Regions from separate parts of the Homo sapiens genome. Here region 1 is linked to region 2. The links are contacts of gene promoters, found by promoter capture Hi-C in human tissues and cell types (Jung and others, 2019). All regions are on one chromosome and are shown on one strand. The core of a region is centred on a gene start or on the middle of the fragment in contact, and the rest is flanking DNA. Distances in the headings are between cores, read along the strand shown.

Region 1 (6,256 bases), core at 2,225-4,724, 210 kb before region 2:
AAGGGTAGAACGCTGTCCCCCTGCGGAACTCTTGTACCCGGCATTTATTAAGCATCTGCTGTACGCCAGGGCCTGGGCCGAGCGCTTTACGTGCGTGAACTCATTTCGTCATCCCCAGGTCCTAGGAGGCCGGCGGGAGGAATCCCACTTTACAGATGAGAAAGTCGAGGGACAGGGAGGGGCGGGACATGCCCGCCGTGCAGACCCAGGCTTCTGGGAGGGAGCTCCCAGCTCGTGATGATGGGGACGGATCCGCCGAGGAGCGCGGCGGCTCGAGGGGGCGGGAGGAGGGCGTCCCTCCAACAGAGGGTCTGCGGCCTGGACGGGGGGCGGCGGCCGGGAAGGGGGTGGGGGAGGGGCTGCCCCGGGCCCCGGGCCCCGCAATCCCCGCCCGGCTGGGCCCGGCTCGGAAAGTCCCGCGAAGCCCCCGCCCGGCCGGCCCAGGGCGGCGCGAACAAGCGGCCCTTTCTGCGCCGGCGGCCCCCGGCAGCTGGACCGCGGCCCGCTGGGGCGCGGACGTATCCGAGCTGGGGCGGGGGCGGGGGCGGGGCGGCCGCGTTGCCAAGGTGACCCGGGCGCGGGAAGGCGGCTCCGGCTCGCGCGGGCCGGGCCGGGCGGCGGCGGCGGCACCATGAGCGGCCGGAAGCGCAGCTTCACCTTCGGGGCCTACGGCGGGTAGGGCGTGGCGCGGCGCGGGGCGGGGCGCGTGCGCGCGTGTGCGTGTGCACGCGTGGGGGGGAGCCCGTGCGGGGTGTGCTCGCGTTTGGGCGGGTGGGCCTGGGCTATGACTGCTGTGGGGGCTGAGCGTTTGACCTCAGTGCGCGCATGGCTGTCGTGCTGTGGCGCCTGTGTGTGTGTGTTTCTGTTTCTGTGTCTGTGTGTGTTCCCATTGCGTGTCCATGTGCATGTGTGGGGAGGTGAGTGCAGGGTGGACATTGCTGTGTTTGTGTCTAAGCACATGATAGTGGCGCTTATGCATGTGACTGGGGCTGCGGGGCTACTCCGCCTGTGTGTGCGCGCGTGTGTGTGCATGCGTGTGTGCGCAACTGCTCACATGTATAGGTATGTGGGAGTAGGGGCAGGCAGGTCAGGGGGAGGTTCTGCTGGACCTCCCACTTTGCCTCTGCAGCTGTTGGGCCCCTCAGTGACGCTCTGGATAAAGGGACTCTAGAAGCCCTTAGCAGGTCCTGCCCACCCTGGGCACCAGGCTGCCCTCCTTCCTGCATCCTGGCTCTCAGGAACCTCCTCCTCCCTGGGCCACTGGCTGCCTGGGCTTGGAGGCCTGGAGGAGGTCAGAGTGGCAGCAGGTTCATCTTGGGGTCAAGGGGTGCAGAGGTGGGATGGGGATTTATGCCTGTTGCGGAGATTTGGCAAATTGGAGGGACGATGGGTTAGACAGAGTGGGCTCAGAGCCCCTGCCCAGCCAGACAAGCGGCTCCATGACCTTCACCAGGCCCTACCTCCCAGTGGTCATAGGGACCCATGGGACCCACCTTGGGGTGTGGAGCGCTGGGGCTTGTGTGTGGGCATGGTCAGTGTTCTCTGAGCTATGGGGATTGTGTCCAAGCTGCCTTCCCCTTGTGGACGCTCAACTTCTGAGGTGACCCCAGCAGAGGGTGGGGTGGGGTGGGAGGCCAGAGGCTACCCTTCCATATGGGGTCTTGCTAGCTGTCAGGTGATGAGAGGAGCCTGGGCTAGGCCCTGAGCTTCCTGGCCAGCCAACACGGGCAGCTCACAGGCTGGGTCCTGTTCTATGACCTTGGGCAAGTCCTGGCTTCTCTGACCTCACTGTCTGCAGAGTCGGCCTTCCCCATCAGCTGTCCCTGGGAGCCCCCAGCCCTGCCCTGCGGAGGACGTCCTCTTGCTGGCAGAGTTGGGCTGGGCTCCCTCCTCATCCCCTTCTTACCTCTGGGCAGGAGGCGAGTTGTTTGTTGTCCCAACAGCTGCTCAGCCCCTGCCCCCAGCGGCACCAAGGTGCCCTCAGAGGGCAGTAGGAGAATCTGGGCGGGGCGGGAGTGCTACCCACACATGCGTCCTGGGGCTGGATCTGGGTGGATTTGGGGGAGACAAAGTCTGGGGTACCCCTGAAGTCTTAGGGAGCAGGGTACGTGTGTTGGGGTGAGGGTGGGGGGAAGCTCCTCCTAGATCTCCTCCCAGATTCGCAGACATTTGCTTCCTGGGTGGATATGAGTGAACAGCTTCAGGATTGAGGCAGGCTACGGGCCTTGGGGGTGATGTTCTTTCTGCCCACCATAAACCATAGATATCCAGCAAACTTCCATCCTGCCTAGAAAGGCTCTAAGCTAGCCCCAGCCGCACCCCTACATCCTTGCCATGATCCAAGCTGCTGTAGTCACTGTCCTACTCCACCTGTCCCCCCACCCCTGCTAACACCCCACAGCCCTGCCCCCTGCCCCACTGCCCCCAGTCCTGCCTCTTTTCCTGGCTCTTTAACCCCTATGCCTTCCCATGTCCCTAATCTGACAGTCAGGCGACTGCAGCCTAAGGGTGATAGTGACTGCATCAGGCATCCTTAGAAACAGGACCTTCTCCAGCCCCTCTGGGAGGGTGGTGCAGTGCAGGTGGGTGTGATATGCTGGGCCAAGCTGGTGAGAAGGGATGTCCCCTCACCTATGGCCCCTCTTGTTGTGTTTCAGGGTGGACAAGTCCTTCACTTCTCGCCGGAGTGTGTGGTGAGTACTGGGGACTCTCAGGAGGGCCTGGGTTTCCTTGGCTGGTCCCTGCAGATACCCCCAATCCATTCCTACCCCTGCGATGCCAGGCCAGACCTTACCAAGCTTCCAACCATCCTCTCAGGGCAAGGGGGTGGGCAGACCCTCTTACTGTCCCCAGAGTACTTTTTTAGAGAGCCTTGGAGGCAGGCAAAGCAGGTTTACATCTTCACTCTGCCACTGCCTGTGTGAACTTCAGCAATTCCTTAATGTCTCTGAACCTCAATTTTCTCATCTGTGAAATGGGGATTAAAATGCCTATTCATAGGGTGTAAGGTAAAAAGAACAAAACCAAAAACTGGCCCTGGCATATTTTAGGCCCTTTTTGCTTAAATGCTTCCTTCCTTTTTTTTCTTCTCTATTTCTTCCCACCTCAGGGTGGCCCCTCGCTGGGCTGGGGCTCCCTTAGCCTTTACTGACCCCCAAATCCTCTAGTTACTCCCCCCGACAGCCCTCAGAACCCCTTCCTCCCATATTTCCTGTGTCTGGGGCTGCCCTCTCTTTGGAGGAGGAGGGAACGAGGCAACTGTATGTGCAGCTTCTCAACACCAAGAGGCAATGGGTGGAGGTGCAGCCTCACCTCGGGATACATCGTGGCACCCTGATGCCCCAGCAGGCAGGTGCCTCCGGGCTTCCCTGGCATCAGCATCACGTGGGCCTGGCTGGCTGCTCCTGCTGCTGCTTCACCTCCAGCAGGAGAGCCCCCCGACGGCTCTGGCTGCTGCTTCCTGCCCCTGCTCAGGGCTGTCTGGGGTCCGTGGGTCCTGCAGTACCCCCCAGCTGCTGGGCGACTCCCATCTGGCACCATCGTCCCCGCAGAGCCCTCCTGGGAAGCCAGGCCTGGGGTGGGAGGCACACAGGGTGCCTCAGCTAAGCTCCCAGCCTGCCTTTCTATTTCCCTTTGATGCTCTCCATGCAACCTCAGGCTGCTTCCTCTCCCTTTCTGGGCATCATCTCCTGCTGCTGTGCCTAGTCCATTTGAGCCCCTCCTTCTGCAAGATGGTGTGCTATGCTCAGAGCAGGGGTAGACTGAGGGGGGATAAAAGCAGAGGTGAGGAAGATGCCATCCTTTCCTTCAGGGAGTTCAGTAATAACACCACTGACAACTGCCACTTGTTGGGCACCTGCTATGCACTGGGTACTGTAGTAGACGCCTGACGTGTTATCTCATGTAACTCTGGCCACACCTCAGAGTTAGGGACTATTATCTCTAATTACAGATGAGAACAATGAAGCCCGGAGTGGGGAAATGAGTTGCCCAAGGTCACACAAGCAGTTGGGATTTGAACCTTGATCTTCCAGACTCTGTGCAGAGCCCAAAACCTCGCCTACTCTGTCCCAGGGCCACCAGGCCACAGGGAGGGTCTGAACGAAGGATGCGCTTGAGGGAAGACTCAGAGACAGGGGCCACCCAGAAGGCCCACCCCAGGGAGCCCTAAGCCAAGAGTTAGAGACGAGGGCCCAGGACTGATTGTAACTGGCCAGCTGTGTGACTTTGGGCGAGTCCCATCCCCTCTCTGGGCTTCAGTTGACCCGTCTATCAAGTAAAGATCGGCCATTCCCCAGGACACGCCCCATTACCCAAAATGCCTTGCCCGTGCTCGCCTAGCTGGAGCCGCTGTCCAAGGTGCTAACCCTAGGCCCTCCCTTCCCAGCTGCCAAAGGCCATCGCTTAACTCCAGCCCATGCGTCAGTGGTGGCCATTTTGACCATTAATCATGATCTCCTGGCATTCAAGGGCTGTCTCCACCTCCTTTTCTAGTTTGGGGCTTGCTTCTCCCGTGCTCTGTGTTTCTGATCAACGGGAACATGGCCCAGTCAGCATCACCTCCCCTTGATGTCCCTCCACTTCCATTTCCACAGGCCCTCGCCACACCTCCAGCCCAACTTTGTCACCATTTGTTGGGTGTTTTCTTTCTTGATCCCCACACCCCCATTCCCTCTTTAGAATGCCTCCTCTGCTGCTACAGAGCATGCATTCGTGAATGTTCCTGGGGTAGGGGAAAGAGCATGGCAGGTGTGGACTTGAGTCTGACAGGTGTGGACTTGAATCTGCCTCTGCCACATTCTAGTTGTGTGACTTTGGCAAGTCATTTTCCCTCTCTGGGCTGCACTTGCTGCTCAACATGTGCTTGTTGAATAGGGCATTTCCGGGAGCTGACTTCAGGTGAGCTGCATGTGTTCACATAACCCTGCAGTGCAAAGCAGGCTCTGAACTCCTTGAAAGGAGAGGTGCTTGGTCGCTTTTTGTTTTTTTGGAGACAGGGTCTCACTCTGTCGCCCAGGCTGTAGTGTAGTTGTGCAGTCTCGGCTCACTGCAACCTTCACCTCCTGGGTTCAAGTGAATCTCTTGCCTCAGCCTCCTGAGTAGTTGGGACCACAGGTGCATGCCATCACTCCTGGGTAATTATTTTTGTATTTTTAGTAGAGACAAGGTCTCACCATGTTGGCCAGTCAGGTCTCGAACTCCTGAGCTCAAGTGATCCTCCCATCTCGGCCTCCCATTGAGTCACATTTGAGCTCAACTTAGCCCCCACTTTCTCCCATAAAGGCCAGGCTGTACTTTTCTCATGTCTCTGTCCTCCACATGGTCTTGTGCAACTACCATGCCCATAAATGCTTAATGCTTGTGGAATTGAATTGAGTGTGTTCAGGGAGGGGAATAAGTAAAACCTTGTCAGTAGGCTGGGAAGGCTTCCTAGAGGAGGTGATTTTCCCCCACCCCTTTACAAAACAGGATTAAGAGGTTAGGACTTGGATTAAAGGAGCAGTGAGTCCTGGTAGAGGCCAGATGTGATCATGGCTGAGTTCCCCTACACATCCCTAACCCCTCTCAGCAGGTTGTCTGCAGTGGAGGACCTCAGAGTAGGTGTGCAGATGCAAGAGGAAGGAGGCCCAGTGTGAGGGTTGGGAGCCAGTGGGACAGTGGGTGACTGATTATGCAGCCCTAAGGGACCCAGATATCCTAGAATGGGGGCTGGACATTTAAAGTGTATTCAAATGGATGGTGGGAGGTAGAGAGGTGTCAGGGTAGAGGAATGGTCAAGTGGACTTGTGCAAGGTAGGAGCGTTCTGAAAATACCTCTGGGAAGAGGAGAGTCAACTTTGGCCTTAAAACTAGGAGCCTGGGAGGTGGAGGCAGAACCCAGAAAGGATTAAGAGCTGACAGCATGCCAGGCATTTTACTCTGAAGGTCTCATTAAATCATGGCATCAGTCCTGCAATTTGGCCTGTTGTTGCCAGTTTAGAGGCCAAAACCAGGACTGAGAGTGGTGGAGGCTCTGGCTCAAAGTCACAGCTGGTGAAGGCTGGATTTGAATCCAGCTCTTCTGCTGAGGAAGGGACCTAGGTCAGAGACAGTGAAGCTGCAGAAATGGGGAAGGTCTTGGTTATGAGTTAAGGGAGGAGCGGGGAGTGATGTAGCCCTGAATGCCACCCAAACGGGAGTCACTGCTCAGTCCATGTGTCCTGCTGGGAAGGCCCATCTGGGTGCTGAGATGTTTCCTCTTGACAGAATTGGTACC
Region 2 (6,012 bases), core at 424-2,923:
ACAATGCCACTCCAAAAATATACTCCAGTCTAGTAATGTTCTATTTCTTGATCTGTGGTGGTTCACTTGGTCAAAATTCATTACTTTTTTTTTTTTTTTTTTTGAGATAGGCTCTCACTCTGCCATCCAGGTCGGAGTGCACTGCCATGATCACGGCTCACTGCAATCTCAACCTTCCGGGCTCTGGTGATCCTCCCACCTCAGCCTACCGGGTAGCTGGGACTACAGGCACACACCACCACACACAGCTAACTTTTGTATTTTTAGTAGAGATAGGGTTTTGCCACATTGCCGAGGCTAGTGTGGAAATCCTGGGCTCAAGTGATCTACCCACCTTGGCGTCCCAAAGTGCTGGGATTACAGGTGTGATCTACTGCGCCCGGGCCCCCTGCACATTTAAAATTGTGAACTTCTTCTGTATACTTCAGTAACTTTTCCAAGATTTCTTTGACGCAAAGTTATCAGAAATCTTAAAGCCAGCATTTCAGAATAGAAAAAAATAGCTTCTGGTTCACTAGTGAAATTTTACTAATAAAATTTAAAAACAAAAAGAAAGCTACTAACGCATATCAGCTCCAAACAGATTAAACACTACCAGCAGATCTTTAACTTCGTGAAGCACTGGGATTCATTCCTTTGGCAAAGAAAGGATGAACAACACCGTAACCCAAAGAAAAGGTACCACTGCCAGAAAAGACTTCTTTTCGAAAGCAGCTCTAGCAGCAAAAGACAGAAGGAAAGCAAGGAAACTAGGCCAAACGTCTTGGTTAACTCTTCGGTGAAAGGACGCCACATGAGATGATGATCTAAGAAGCCAGAAAGACAGACAGACAGGCACAGGGAAACCACAGCAACTCCTCGGAGTGCAAACAGCAACCCCACAATCCAACCTAGCCGAAATCCTGCGGTTCATTTGAGGCTTGCCCCGCTAGTCAGGAGGTGATTCAGTGATGGCTACAAACGCTCCTCATGTGCATCCTGGACCTGGCACACCTGGCTTGCCCATCACCAGCCTGGAGACACCGCCAGGAGCAGAAGCCCGGAGGCCAGTAAAGACCCCAACTTTGCAAGTCAGGGGCGCGAGCGCTCTCGCCTCTCAGGCCCGCAGAGGGAACCGATTTCCGGCCTCGAGGGTGGGGTGCGGAGTCAGTGTCCTCTACAGGATATAGGAGGACGTGCCCCCGAAGCTGCTCCGTCCCTCCACCCCCTGGGATGCCACAGAACACCCGCCAGCGAGTTTCTTCCCCAGCGCCCACGAGAGCTGGGCTGAGGGCGGCAGCGGCAGGCGAAGAATCCAGCGCGGGGAACTCAGCCCCCGGCGGTGCACGACCCCCCACACCCCCCACCTCCCACCCGCCCCCGCGCTCGCGCAACAAAACTTGCGACGGCCGCGCCTCGACCCAGGTGTGCGCCCGCCGGTCCCGGATTCACCGCCCGTCCAGCCTGGCGCGGCGCCCTCACCTGAGAAACGCTGGGTGGACTTCGCCGTAACTTCCCATCCAGACGGCGGCCCGCAGCCGCGCCGCCGCGCCTCGGCCCAGCTCCTGGCGCCGCAGGTTGCCAGTCCCGCGTTCCCAAAAGCACCGCGCGCAGAAGCTCACTCAGTCTCGGGATCCTCACCTACCCATCCCAGTACCGCCGCTGTCTCAACCGCCACCCAACCCCTCGCCTGTGCCTGCGCCTGCGCCTGCGCCTGCAGCCCACTGGCTCCTCAGGGTCCGGATGGGCCGCGTCAGGAGAACCCAAGGCGCAGGCGCGGCGGGGCCTTAAAGGGACTCGGCGGCCTCTACTGCACAACAGGTTCGAGCAGGTTAGGGGCCCTGCGGGCCGAGAAAAGGAGTAACCTAGGTGATGCACCGAGTGCAGCTGGGACGGGGAATCCCTCTCTGCCCTCCGCGTCTCTCTCAAAGCACCAGCCCTCGACCCTCCAAATCGCTGATTTCCCCGGCCACTTGAACCGCCCCTGCCAGGTTAAAGAAGCAGAAGACACACCCCCTCGGAGGCCCGGAGCGTCCCCGCGTGCCCACACGGATTTTATTTTTTTCTGAAAAGATGGTACATTTACATGGTTCGAAATTCAAATAGGGCCAGGCGTGAGCCCTGGAGTTCGAGACCAGCCTGGACGAAAAAGAAAGAGCCCCGTATCTATTAAAAAAAAAAAATCAAATAGTACAGAAAATTGTAAAGTTAAAATAGGCATCTTTTCCATTCCTGTCTCCCAGTCTCACCCTGTAGGCAATCTGTGGGATGCTGTTCCTGTGAATCCTTCCAGGGATATTTTATGTACGTTTTCGCTTTTTTTATTTTTATTTTTTTTTTTGAGATAGAGTCTTGCTCTCGTTGCCCAGGATGGAGTGCAATGGCATGATCTTGGCTTCCTGCAACCTCCACCTCCCAAGTTCAAGCTATTGTCCTGCCTTAGCCTCCCAAATAGCTGGGATTACAGGTGCCCACCATCCTGCCTGGCTAATTGTTGTATTTTTAGTAGAGACGGGGTTTCACCATGTTGGCAAGGCTGGTCTAGAACTCCTGACCTCGAGTCTTGCTCTGTCACCCTTGCTGGAGTGCAGTGGCACAATCTCAGCTCACTGCAACCTCTGCCTCCCAGGATCAAGCGATTCTCCTGCCCCAGCCTCCCGAGTAGCTAGGACTACAGGCGTGTGCCACCACACCCAGCCTCCCTTCCCATTTGGCACGTGCCAGCCACGTGCCAAGTCCCAGGCCCCAAACTGGTTAGGGGTCAGGAAGAGCGTTCCAAAGAGCTCACACAGAAGTTCAATCCTATCTCTCCACCAAGGTGGGCGACACCATGGGGCTGCAATGCCTGCTTTTGTGCTTTTCAGGCACCTCCCCCAGTGCTGCCAACTGCCCTTCTGAAGGGCCTGTGTTTGCCACCCTCTGCCTTCGCACTAATTTGCTATTTCTAATCTGCTCTGGGCCAGGAGAACAGATAAAACTAGGGCCCTCAATGGTTTAGAGTTTTATAGTTCACCAAGTGCTCAAGGCACATTATCTTCTGTGAACCTCACCCCAGGCCCTAGGGAAAGACAGATCAGGACGAGCCACGTGACTGTGCAGGTCATTTAAGTTTTCATTCTCCTACCTCTAAAATGCTGAAAATAACAGGAACGACTCCATAGGACTGGTGTGAGGATTAAATATCCATGGACTGCTTAGAACAGGTCCAGCATATAGTGGCAATAACAATATTAATGAGAGCTAACATTCAGTGAGCACTTAGCATGTTCCAAAATCTGTTCTGTTCTAAGTGCTATATATAGAACAGCTTATTTGATCCTCAAAAGAAAGCTACATTTTTAAGTATCATTACTTCCCCTATCCTACAGATGAGAAAAATGAGGCATGGAGAAGTGATTTTCTAAAGATCACAAAACTGGGCTGGGCACAGTGGCTCAACCTGTAATCCCAGCACTTTGGGTGGCCGAAGCGGGTGGATCACCTGAAGGCAAGAGTTCCAGACCAGCCTGGCCAACATGGTGAAACCCCCGTCTCTACTAAAAATACAAAAATTAGCCAGACATGGTGGTGCACGCCTGTAATTCCAGCTACTCGGGAGGCTGAGGCAGGAGAATTGCTTGAACCCAGGAGGCGGAGGTTGCAGTGAGCTGAGATCATGTCACTGCAATCCAGCCTAGGGGACAGAGTGAGACTCCATCTTAAAAATAAATAGCCCAGGCATGGTGGCTCACGCCTGTAATCCCAGCACTTTAGAAGGCCCAGGCGGGAGGATCACCTGAGGTCGGGAGTTCAAGACCAGCCTGACCAACATGGAGAAACCCCATCTCTACTAAAACTAAGAATTAGCCGGGGGTGTTGGTGCATGCCTGTAATCCCAGCTACTCGGAGGCTAAGGTGAGAATTGCTTAAACCTGGGAGGCAGAGGATGCAGTGAGCCGAGATCGCTCCACTGCACTCCAGCCTGGGCCACAGAGTGAAACTCCGTCTCAAAAGAAAAAAAAAAAAAAAATTAGCCAGGCAAGGTGGCGGACGCCTGTAGTCCCAGCTACTCGGGAGGCTGAGGCAGGAGAATGGCACGAACCCGGGAGGCGGAGCTTGCAGTGAGCCGAGATCTCGCCACTGCACTCCAGCCTGGGGGACAGAGCGAGACTGCATCCCAAAAATAAATAAATGTTAATAGGCACATGTAGCTAGTGGCGACCATATTAGTGCAGAGTCACACGCATAAGGCTCGACTGGTGTTATGCCCAAACGCTGACTTATTCTTCAGTAGCCCCCAGCTCAGACCTCCCCAGCACCTGCTCAGGAGCTTCTTGGCTCTCCGCAGCCGCTGCACCTCGCGCTGGGCGTCCTCGTGGACCTGCATGGTGCCCTCGGTCTTGTCCCGCAGGCGCTACATCTGTTCCTCTAGGCCTACGTTTGAGAGCCAGGATTCCACTCCCCAATGTGCTCTCACCACCCTCTGAGCCCTCACCTCCCTGGGGTCCCGGACAACTCCAATCAAAGCCCCCACCCACCCACCGATGCCAGACAAACCCCCAGGCACACTCCTCTCCTGGGTTCTGACACCACCCCGAGGGCTCCCAGGCTCCTCCCCCTTGCATCCTGGTTCCACTCTCAGACTCCTCCCTACCCTGGCTCTGCCCCTAGTTCCCAAGCTCTGATTTCCCTTGCTAGACCTTTTCCCAGGGTCCTGGCTCTGCATGACCAGGGACCTGTCTCCCTCTCTACCAGGACCCTAACACTGCCGCAGCCTCCTCCTTCCACCAGCTGCCCAAGCACCCACCCCCAGCTGCCCAAGCACCCCCACTTCTGGGCTCGGCTTCACCACAGAGCTCTCGGCCACCTCCTTGGGGATCCTGACACTCTCAGACACTATTTCTCAGGGCTCTGGCTGCACCCCAGGGCGCTCAGACTCCTCCGCCGGACCTCCCCGGACCCGTCCCCGCCCCCACCCGGAGGGCGCGAGCCCCTCCCCCCGGGCCTCTGGCTGCACCCAGAACGCTCAAGCCCCTTCCTACCTGGACCTGCAGCTGGTGCTTGTGCAAGGCGGAGTGGATCAGGGCGAGGGCGGAGGAGTCTGAGCAGGCCGGGGAGGGGCCTCGGCGGGGCGAACGGCCTCTGCCTGGCGAGTAGCACCGCGGTGGGGACGGGGTCCGCTGGCCCCAGAGTCCCCGCAGGCTGCGCTCCGACGCATCCACGGTGCACTTGGAGCCGCTCAGCTGGACGCCGCTCTCAGCCTCGGACAGGACGGCCTGAGGGTAGAGGAGGGAGGCAGAAGGAGGCCGCAGAGCTAGGAACCGTGGGGTTGGCTGGGCAAAGACGCCTAGGCGAGGCTGGGGGCCGCCTCATCCCAAATGCTGCCTCCTACAAGAAGCCTTCCTGATTTCACCTCCTCCACTAACTCAGCCCTCAGCTCGCCGCTGAGGCCTCCCGTTTATTGCAAAGACATCATTTGGCATTGCTCACAGGTGGGCTCCGAAAGGGCCGTGCCTCCCCTCTGAGACTGGGGGCTCCCCAGGGCAGGGGCCAGGTGAGTTAGCAGGGGTGCTGAGCAGCTACAGCCTGGGTCCCAGGCCCCCACCCATTTGCAGTTCAGTCCCAGGCCACCGAAAGGCGTGGCGAGGGAGCCCGGGGTTTCCTGGCAGGGCCCTGTCTTCCCACCTCTCTGGGCTCACACCTGTGCCAGGTCCCTTAGGCTCTGCTGTAGCTCCTCTCCGTCCTCTGTCTCCAGGGCCGCCTGCTCCTGTAGCCACAGGGATTCCTGGAGTGCGGTGAGGGAGACAAAGGGTAGTCGGGGTTCTGTCTTATCTGAAACCTCCCCTTCCCCTCCCTCCCTGGCCCACCACTGACCAGGTGGCCTCTGAAGCCATGTCCATAGGCCAGCCACCTGGTAGACCCCACAGCAGGCCCGAGACCCTCACTGAACAGACTAGGCCCAGAGAAGAGCTGTGTTCTGCCCCAGGTCACACAGTTGATGGGAGGAGACCCGGACCTAGAACCCAGGTCAGGCCCCAGACAGGGGGGTGACCA

The links. The method cuts DNA at HindIII sites, captures the fragments that hold promoters and counts their contacts. A contact is called where the count stands out against the background at its distance.
Region 1: a fragment that was not itself captured here is called in contact with the fragment with the promoter of NBPF3 in region 2 in 1 of the 25 tissues and cell types used here (IMR-90 fibroblasts).

What each region holds. Positions count from the first base shown.
Region 1 is chr1:21,646,198-21,652,453 of GRCh38, reverse strand. RAP1GAP (RAP1 GTPase activating protein) reads left to right here. Exons shown (of 25, transcript NM_002885.4): 2 at 2,658-2,693. Among named protein-coding and RNA genes, the nearest start is that of RAP1GAP, 20 kb to the left of the region's middle. RefSeq lists a silencer at 523-592 and an enhancer at 582-1,332. The HindIII fragment of the contact is 6,080 bases long and covers 435-6,256 here.
Region 2 is chr1:21,435,798-21,441,809 of GRCh38, reverse strand. It overlaps NBPF3 (NBPF member 3), which reads right to left and starts at 1,673. Exons shown (of 15, transcript NM_032264.6): 1 at 1,462-1,673. It also overlaps the pseudogene CROCCP5. RefSeq lists silencers at 760-1,054, 2,020-2,069, 5,620-5,914 and an enhancer at 1,029-1,539. The HindIII fragment of the contact is 9,702 bases long and covers 1-6,012 here.